Linked DNA regions of Homo sapiens: region 2 is linked to region 1. The links are contacts of gene promoters, found by promoter capture Hi-C in blood cells and fetal thymus (Javierre and others, 2016). All regions are on one chromosome and are shown on one strand. The core of a region is centred on a gene start or on the middle of the fragment in contact, and the rest is flanking DNA. Distances in the headings are between cores, read along the strand shown. Region 1 holds the start of MCPH1 (microcephalin 1). Region 2 overlaps ERI1 (exoribonuclease 1).

Region 1 (4,122 bases), core at 1-2,500:
CTTAAAAATGTAAAAGACATTCTTAGCTCGTAGACCCTTACAAAAACAGGCAGCAGGCTAGATATGGCCTGGGGGGCATAGTGAGTGGACCCCTGTTCTAGTGGATATCCTCTTCTCAAAACCTGATGTTTAAAAGCATTTTCCAGGTGTGCCGTTGGTCAATGATTGGGGGTAACGCTAAAAGAAAACCAGGTTAATTTAACAAAATACTAACATTAGAAAAATAGCCACATCTGATTACAGACTTTGTATAAAGCCTCTAGTCTTTACTTTTGGCTATGAGGTTTTATGACTCCAGGCCCCACAATACAGGCCCCTTTTTTCTCACGGTCAAACTCTACAAGACACGTGTCCGCTATTCCCCTCTCCTGGGCTCTTCCAGGTGCACAGAGGGTGGGACTGCGTGCGGTATCATATACTGGTTAGGACAGCAGCTCCGGTCTAAGGCCCTGTCAGCACTGACTAGCCACACACAGGGAGAGTCACCTAAACGTCCGATGCCTTAGTTTCTGCCTGTAAAATGATATAAGAGAGTTGATAGAGCGGTTAAAAAAATCAGACAATACCATACTAGCCTAAGCACAGCGCCTGGCACACAAAGACTCCGCAGTAAAAGGCGGCTCCTATTATTGGAACAATTAGCATAGAAACTCAACTGCCGCTCCTCCAGGTGGGCCTCAGAGGGGGTCGAACAGGACCAGACCCAGGAGGGCCCCACACCAACTTCCGGAGGGCAGGACTCTGCCTGCCAGTGAGCCCCAGATCCAGGGACTAAGGCAGCAGGGGTGAAAGCAGGTAGGGGGAAAGGCGGGATTTGGGGGACAGGCAGCATGGGGGAGGGAGCAGGCAGCGGGGGATTGAGGGGAACTAGCAGCACGGGGGTTGGGGCACAAGCAGTACGGGGGAGGAAGCAGGCAGTCGGGGGTTTGGGGGGACAGGGAGCACGGGAGACGAAGCAGGCAGCCGGGGGTTTTGGGGGGACAGGCAGCGGGGGAGAGAGCAGGAGCAGGGGGTTTTGGTGGGACAGGCAGCGGGGGAGGAAGGAGGCGGCAGGGGGTCTGGGGGAGACAGGCAGCGAGGGAGGGGCGAGCGGGGCTCCTCCCACGGGATCCCCCGAGTGCGCCCGCGACGAGGGGTGCCGGTCCTCAAACTCCCGCTGCTGGAGCAGGCAGCAGGAAGTACCTCACCTTTCAGGATGGGGGCCGCCATGACAGACGGCGGGATCCGGCCAGCTGGCCTACGCGGTGCTTGCGAGCCTGGCGGCGCGCGCGGGCACTGGGCATGCGCGGGGTGAGCGCGCCGCCGTCACCGCGCTCCGCTGAATCCGCGTTTCCGGGATTTCTCTGTAGGTGAGGCGGGAGGCTGGAGGGAGCTGAGCCCCCGGGGAGGGGGCCCGATTCCGCCTCGCCGCGCCTCTGGCTGCTGGGCCGTGGGTTTTTCTCTTCTCCTGGGAGTAAGGAGGACGACGGCCCCTAACCCCTGAATTAGCCTTCTATTTCCATTAGTGACTTAGAAGCTACCCGGCGCCTCATCTGGGCTCACCTGAGCTGAGGATCAGGAAGGGGAGGGGGCACAGTCATTCCCTCGCGGACGCGGCGGGACCCCAGCGGACGGCTTTGTGCGGACTTTCGGCACCGTTATGCCCCCCTAGCCCGACACCACCTGGGGCTGGCGCGCCACGTTACTGTTCAGGGCCAGACGCACCGCCCTGCCTGCTCCGGGGAGCCGGACCTCCGATCCCGGGGATGGGGGACCCCGAGACCTCAGACCCAACGGAGGGGACTCTGATACCTCAGACCCCACGCGGGGACCCCGAGGCTTCAGACCCCCACAGGGTGACCCCGAGATCTCAGACCCCCGCAGGAGTACCTCCAGACCTCAAATCCCCAGTAAGGGAATGAAAGAGACTTCGGATCCCTGAGGCAGCAAATCCCTGTAGGGGCATCCCAGGACTCAGGTCACCGCGGGGTGAACCCAGACCTCACATTCAGGCAATCCCCAGGACGCCGATCGGCTGGCACTACCCACTGTCCCGGCCACCCCCCCTGGAGCTCAAAGGCTTGGCCCTCCAGCTGCTCCACCCTGCCGGCAACCAGGCTCAAACCTGCAGCCCGCGGATCCCCTGCCCCGGAAGCAACCAGATTCGCGGGAGGTTACCTGACTGATCCAAGGTGATACAGCTGGTAACTGATGGAGATGTTGGTAGTGAAATTCATGTACTTTTAGTTCTTTCTATGGAATCTAGAGGTAGAATACATGTAAAAGAATATCGACTACCGTCTACTCAGGTCTCTGTTTTATCTGTTTATTCATTCACTCTCAGCTTTTAATAGGATCCAATGAGCCCTCTGTGGTTCTGAAGAATTGCCTTGAGTATATGCAGCCTCAAAAAACCCACTTCCTAGGCTCAGTCTTTGATCAATATTTATCATTATCACCAGTTATTGTTCTAATAAACTCTACTCTGGAAATATGGTGTTATGGTTTACTTGGGAGTGTGAGTTCAGGGCATCATTGAAGACTCACGTACTTTTACTGAGAAAGTGACATTGATCTCTGTAGATTTTGAATTAAATGATATGATGAAGTATATAAACCAATTACTTTTGGTCAAGGTGGTAAAAAAAGTTTAGTATTTGATAGATTCTTCATCTCCACGATCACAAATATTTTCTCCTAGGATTTCTTCTAGAAATATTACTGCTTTAGGTTGTATATCAGGTCTAGGTTCTACTTTTTTTTTTTTTTTTCTCCAGGCAGTTTCTCACTCCGTTGCCCAGGCTGGAATGCAGTGGTGTAATCACAGCTCACTGCAGCCTCAACCTACTGGACTCAAAGGATAAGATCTGCTTTTAATTAATTTTTGTATACGGTATGGGATAGGGACCAAAGTTCATTTTTTTGCATGTATACATATCCAAATGTTCCAGCATCATTTATTAAAAAGTTATTTTTGTCTCTACTGCATTTCCTTTGTGCTTACATCAAAATCTGTGTTGCATATGTATGTGTTTCATTTTAGGCTTCCTATTGTGTTCCATTGAGCTATTTGTCTTTTTGCTGCCAGCACCATGCTGTTTTGATTATTGTAGCTATATAAATAAGTGATGAAATCAGATAGTTTATGTCCTACAACTTTATTTTTCAAGGTTATTTTGTATCTTCTAGATTCTTCAGATTTCCTTTTAAATCTTAGAGTCGACTTCTCATTTTGCACAAAAAAATACTGCTGGGATTTTGATTGAGATTGTGTTGACTCTACAGATGAATTTGGGGAGAATTGACATTTTAACCATATTGAATCTTCTGACCCATTAACATTTAGGTCTTTTAAAATTTCTCTGGCCAGACGCAGTGGCTCACGCCTGCCACTTTGGGAGGCCAAGGCGGGCCGATCACAAGGTCAGGAGATTGAGACCATCCTGGCTAACACAGTGAAACCCCATCTCTACTAAAAATACAAAAAATTAGCCGGGCGTGGTGGCATGCGCCTGTAGCCCCAGCTACTTGGAAGGCTGAGGCAGGAGAATGGCATGAACCCGGGAGACAGAGCTTGCAGTGAGCAGAGATCTTGCCACTGCACTCCACCTGGGGCAACAGAGCGAGACTCCATCTCAAAAAAAAAAAATATAACTGTTGTTAGATTTTAACCTAAGTATTTGTTTTTTTATTTTGTTTTTCTTTTTTTCTTCTTTTTTTTTTTTTTTTTTTTTTGAGACAGGATCTCACTCTGTCTCCCAGGCTGAAGTGCAATGGTGTGATCATGGCTCATCTTGAAGCCTCGACCCTCCTGGGATCAAGCTATCCTCCCACCTCAACCTCCTGAGTAGCTGGGACTACAAGTACACATGACCATGCCCAATTCATTTTTTAAATTCTTTGTAGAGGCGGAGTCCCACTATGTTGCCCAGGCTGGTCTTGAACTCCTGGGCTCAAGCAATCCTCCCACCTCAGCTTCCCAAAGTGTAGGGATTACAGGCATGAGCCACTGTGCAAGGTCTTGTGTTTTTTGATAATATCGTAAATGGTGATTTTTTCATTTGTTTCTGATTGTTGCTAATATATGGAAATATAGTTGATATCTGCAATTGATCTCATGTCCTGAAAACTTGCTAAATCTGC
Region 2 (3,743 bases), core at 694-3,193, 2.6 Mb before region 1:
TTGCCGGTAGGTCATTAAAATATTTGACTTTGATTCAGCAGTCCTATCATCTAGAAGACAGACAAAAATAATCAGAGTTGCACATAAAAAATGTTAATTAGTTTTTGTGAACTGTTAATAGGATCATGTCATTACGGTAGGATTACAGATGATTTTTAATATTTCAATGTTTTCAAGATTTTCTAAAATGAGCATGTACTACTTTTATAATTTTATAAGTTATTTTTAATTACCTAGTTTCAAGCTTGAATTCTGAAAGCTTAGCTCTGAGTTCTTCCTTACTCATTCTATTAATACAGCCATTCGTAATGGCAATCTCTTTGTAAACCGGGTCACTGAAGTCACTCGCACTGGAGGTAATGAACTTGGATCCTTTTGTCTCCTGGCCATCAAATTTACACTGTTGAGTTTCCTACCAAAAAAAAAAAAAAAAAAAAAAAAAAAAAGGATGTAGTTTATAATTAGTACAAACATCACAGATTTAAAGATTCAAACTTTCAAACTTCTGAAGCCTCTTCATGCTACATGTTCAATGAAAAGTGTTCACTGCAGCTCCTAAACGGAGGAAAGGATAAGAAGGAAGATGCGTCTCCAATACAATTTACCCCACTCTATTATGAGTCATGAGGTTCCTCAAAGGAAACAAAGCTAAGTAAAAAGAAGACTGGTGGTGGGAGTCAACACCACCTCAATAGAGAACCCCAGCTGACTATTTACTAGAAATAGCAGCATGACTTTGGATAGCTACGTATTAGCCTCTGATCCTCAATTTCCTTATCTATAAAATGGTAATTTGGTAATGGTAAATAGTGTTTGGGCAGAATTATTACAAAGATTAAATGAGATTATGTGTATCAGACCCCTACACCCACAGTAGCTATTAATAAATGGTAACTATTAATATCACAGGCTATACAACAAGCCCTTCACAAACAATATGCTAATATTTACAAATGAACCCATTTTTAAATGAACTTTTACATTATACATGTGTAATAACTTCTGATAATTTTTTAACCTGACTTCATTTCACAAAGTTAACAAAAATTGCCCAACATAAAAACAAAATGGACCGCAAATCTAATTTACAGCTTCCTAGTACTCAAAGAAGGAAATGTATTTAATTTCAAAACTTACATTTTCCAAAAGTTGTACTTAGGTCCACTAACCAGAAGAACTATAGAATTATGAATTTTTTCATAAATAAAAATCTGTTAAGAAAAAACATGACTCAATTCTATTTTCTCCACAGGCAGTCTCAAATTACTAATATGTTAAGTTCCAAAGATTCATTTGTAAGTTATTTTCCACATGCAATATCACAAATATTAGCTATGTTCCATAATTTTGAAAAATATTTAGTACTAATTATCCCTATTAAAGCTTGTTACCTTAGTTATAATGTACCACATTGTCCTCACGTAAACTGTAATTATAGATCAAGGAAGGATAATCACAGAGAGGCCACAGTCCCTAACTCAGAACTGATCCTGATGGTTCAGGAACCATTTCTTACTCTAAGCTCTCAATTTAATGCAACACACATTTACTGGAAATGTAATGCTAGGTAAGGTGCCAGAGTACTCAAGAGTGACTCACCCATTTCCTTTGAGGAAGAGGTCAGCAGTTCCAATGTGTGAACTGTCCATAAATTAAAGAACAGCCACACTGAGGTTCCTTGTTAACAATGTTAAGGAAAAAAAAAGTATTGCTAGTTGACCAATGATTCACTTTCAACAATATATTAGATTTACAATAGATATTGCTCTGCTTGACCAGAATTTTACAAAAAATTATCTTTTGACTTTAAATTTACATTGAATTTGAAACTTCATCTTTAGTCATCATTTAGTAAATTTCAGGTTAAAATTTAGGTCAACATTAAGTAACAGTTTGTCTACCAAAACAGATGTCTCAGTTAATTTAAGCAGATTTTCTCTTTGGATAAATCCTCTTTCTGATTCACTGGTTAATTCTCATCCTAAACTGTAGCTAGAAAAATTATTCACAAGTAACACTTAGGCCTCTTCTATAGATGCTATAAATTATGACTTCCATAAAGAAAAATTTGCTTCCTTTCCTAGGTCCAGCTCTAGTTCTCTTCCTTCAGTGAAGTTCTAGAGACAGCCGAGGTCCAATCCTCAGAAAGCAGTGTCTCCTCCCAAATTTCAAATCTACACTAATGGTTCACAAAGAAGGATGCTCAAATCAATCTGCCAAGGAGCAGAAAGAAAATACTAAAAACCCTACTTGTATTGTTAATCTGCAGAAAGACAAAATTAGTTTACGAAATACATACTTACATTTGCATCAGCATCCGTACCAGTAACTACATCCACCTATCACATGTCACATATAATACGGACCATATAATGAGAAAAGTGATAGATTCCACAATATGGAGAGAAACATTCACCATCACAGAACTGTAACATTTTGCAATATTCACGTATTCAATTAAGTGGATGTATGGTTTATATTATCTCAAATAAGAGAAGCTTTTACATTATGGGATGTGGCCATGAAAATCTTCTATACCAAACAGAGGTTTACTATCTTGTGGCAAACTACTTTAAAACTGTCGTTGAGGCCGGGCGCGTTGGCTCACGCCTGTAATCCCAGCACTTTGGGAGGCCGAGGCGGGCGGATAACGAGGTCAGGAGATAGAGACCACGGTGAAACCCCGTCTCTACTAAAAATACAAAAAATTAGCCGGGCGGGCGCCTGTAGTCCCAGCTACTCAGGAGGCTGAGGCAGGAGAATGGCGTGAACCCGTGAGGCGGAGCTTGCAGCGAGCCGAGACTGAGCCGCTGCACTCCAGCCTGGGCAACAGAGAGAGACTCCCTCTCAAAAAAAAAAAAAAAAAACATAAAAAAACTGTTGTTGAACTTAAAGATGAGTTACAAATTTTCTTTTACAAAAAGACAGGTATTCTATAATTGCTGTCCTCTTCTTATTGGGAAGGGTACCGGAGCTTGATTTTTAGCATTTTTTTAAAGGAACACAATCTGTTGTTGCAAGAAAAAAGAAAACACATTTTAACAGTAAGCTACAAAGTAACTGCTTGTCAAATAAAACTTTTTCTGTATAGAGAACATTTTGAAAACATGTTCTGGAAATGCTATTATTCTGCTGCCAAAAATCTAGGTACTACCTTTTAAAAAAAGAAAAGGAAAACCTCTGCATCTGCACACTGAAAAAAAACTTAGAATTTTTCTTGATTGACGTTCTTCCAAAAGGAGAGTTCTGATGAAATCTGAACCTACTTATTAAAAATATAAATATGCAATAGCTTCTACTAGTTTACAAAGACAACTAGCATTAGAGATAATGGAAATTTACCACCTGAATTCAACAAAAAACTTTGGCCCAGATTGAAAAACACTGTATCATGGCCAGGCGCAGTGGCTCATTGCCTGTAATCCCAGCACTTTGGGAGGCCGAGGTGGGCGGATCACCTGAGGTCAGGAGTTCCAGACCAGCATGGCCAACATGGTGAAACCCCATCTCTACTAAAAATACAAAAACTAGCCAAGCGTGGTGGTGGGTTCCTGTAATCCCAGCTACTAGGGAGGCTGAGGCACGAGAATCACTTGAATCCGGGAGGCGGGAGGTTGCAGTAAGCTGAGACCATGCCATTGCACTCCAGACTGGGCAACAAGAACGAAACTCCGTCTCCAAAAAAAAAAAAAAAAAAGTATCATTACTATTATTTTTTGAGACAGGGTCTCACTCTGTCACCC

What was found. Contacts are between HindIII fragments. The CHiCAGO score rates a contact against its expected background, and 5 or more counts as called.
Region 2: a fragment that was not itself captured here is called in contact with the fragment with the promoter of MCPH1 in region 1 in 2 of 17 cell types (naive CD8 T cells and fetal thymus); the score reaches 12.4 in naive CD8 T cells.

What each region holds. Positions count from the first base shown.
Region 1 is chr8:6,403,755-6,407,876 of GRCh38, reverse strand. MCPH1 (microcephalin 1) reads right to left here and starts at 1,250. Exons shown (of 14, transcript NM_024596.5): 1 at 1,188-1,250. The coding sequence starts at 1,209. It overlaps MCPH1-DT (MCPH1 divergent transcript), which reads left to right and starts at 1,329. Exons shown (of 2, transcript NR_040040.1): 1 at 1,329-2,171; 2 at 2,757-4,122. RefSeq lists silencers at 989-1,168, 1,429-1,508. The HindIII fragment of the contact is 9,682 bases long and covers 1-4,122 here.
Region 2 is chr8:9,004,639-9,008,381 of GRCh38, reverse strand. ERI1 (exoribonuclease 1) reads right to left here. Exons shown (of 7, transcript NM_153332.4): 2 at 234-412. Among named protein-coding and RNA genes, the nearest start is that of ERI1, 3.6 kb to the right of the region's middle. The HindIII fragment of the contact is 1,115 bases long and covers 1,386-2,500 here.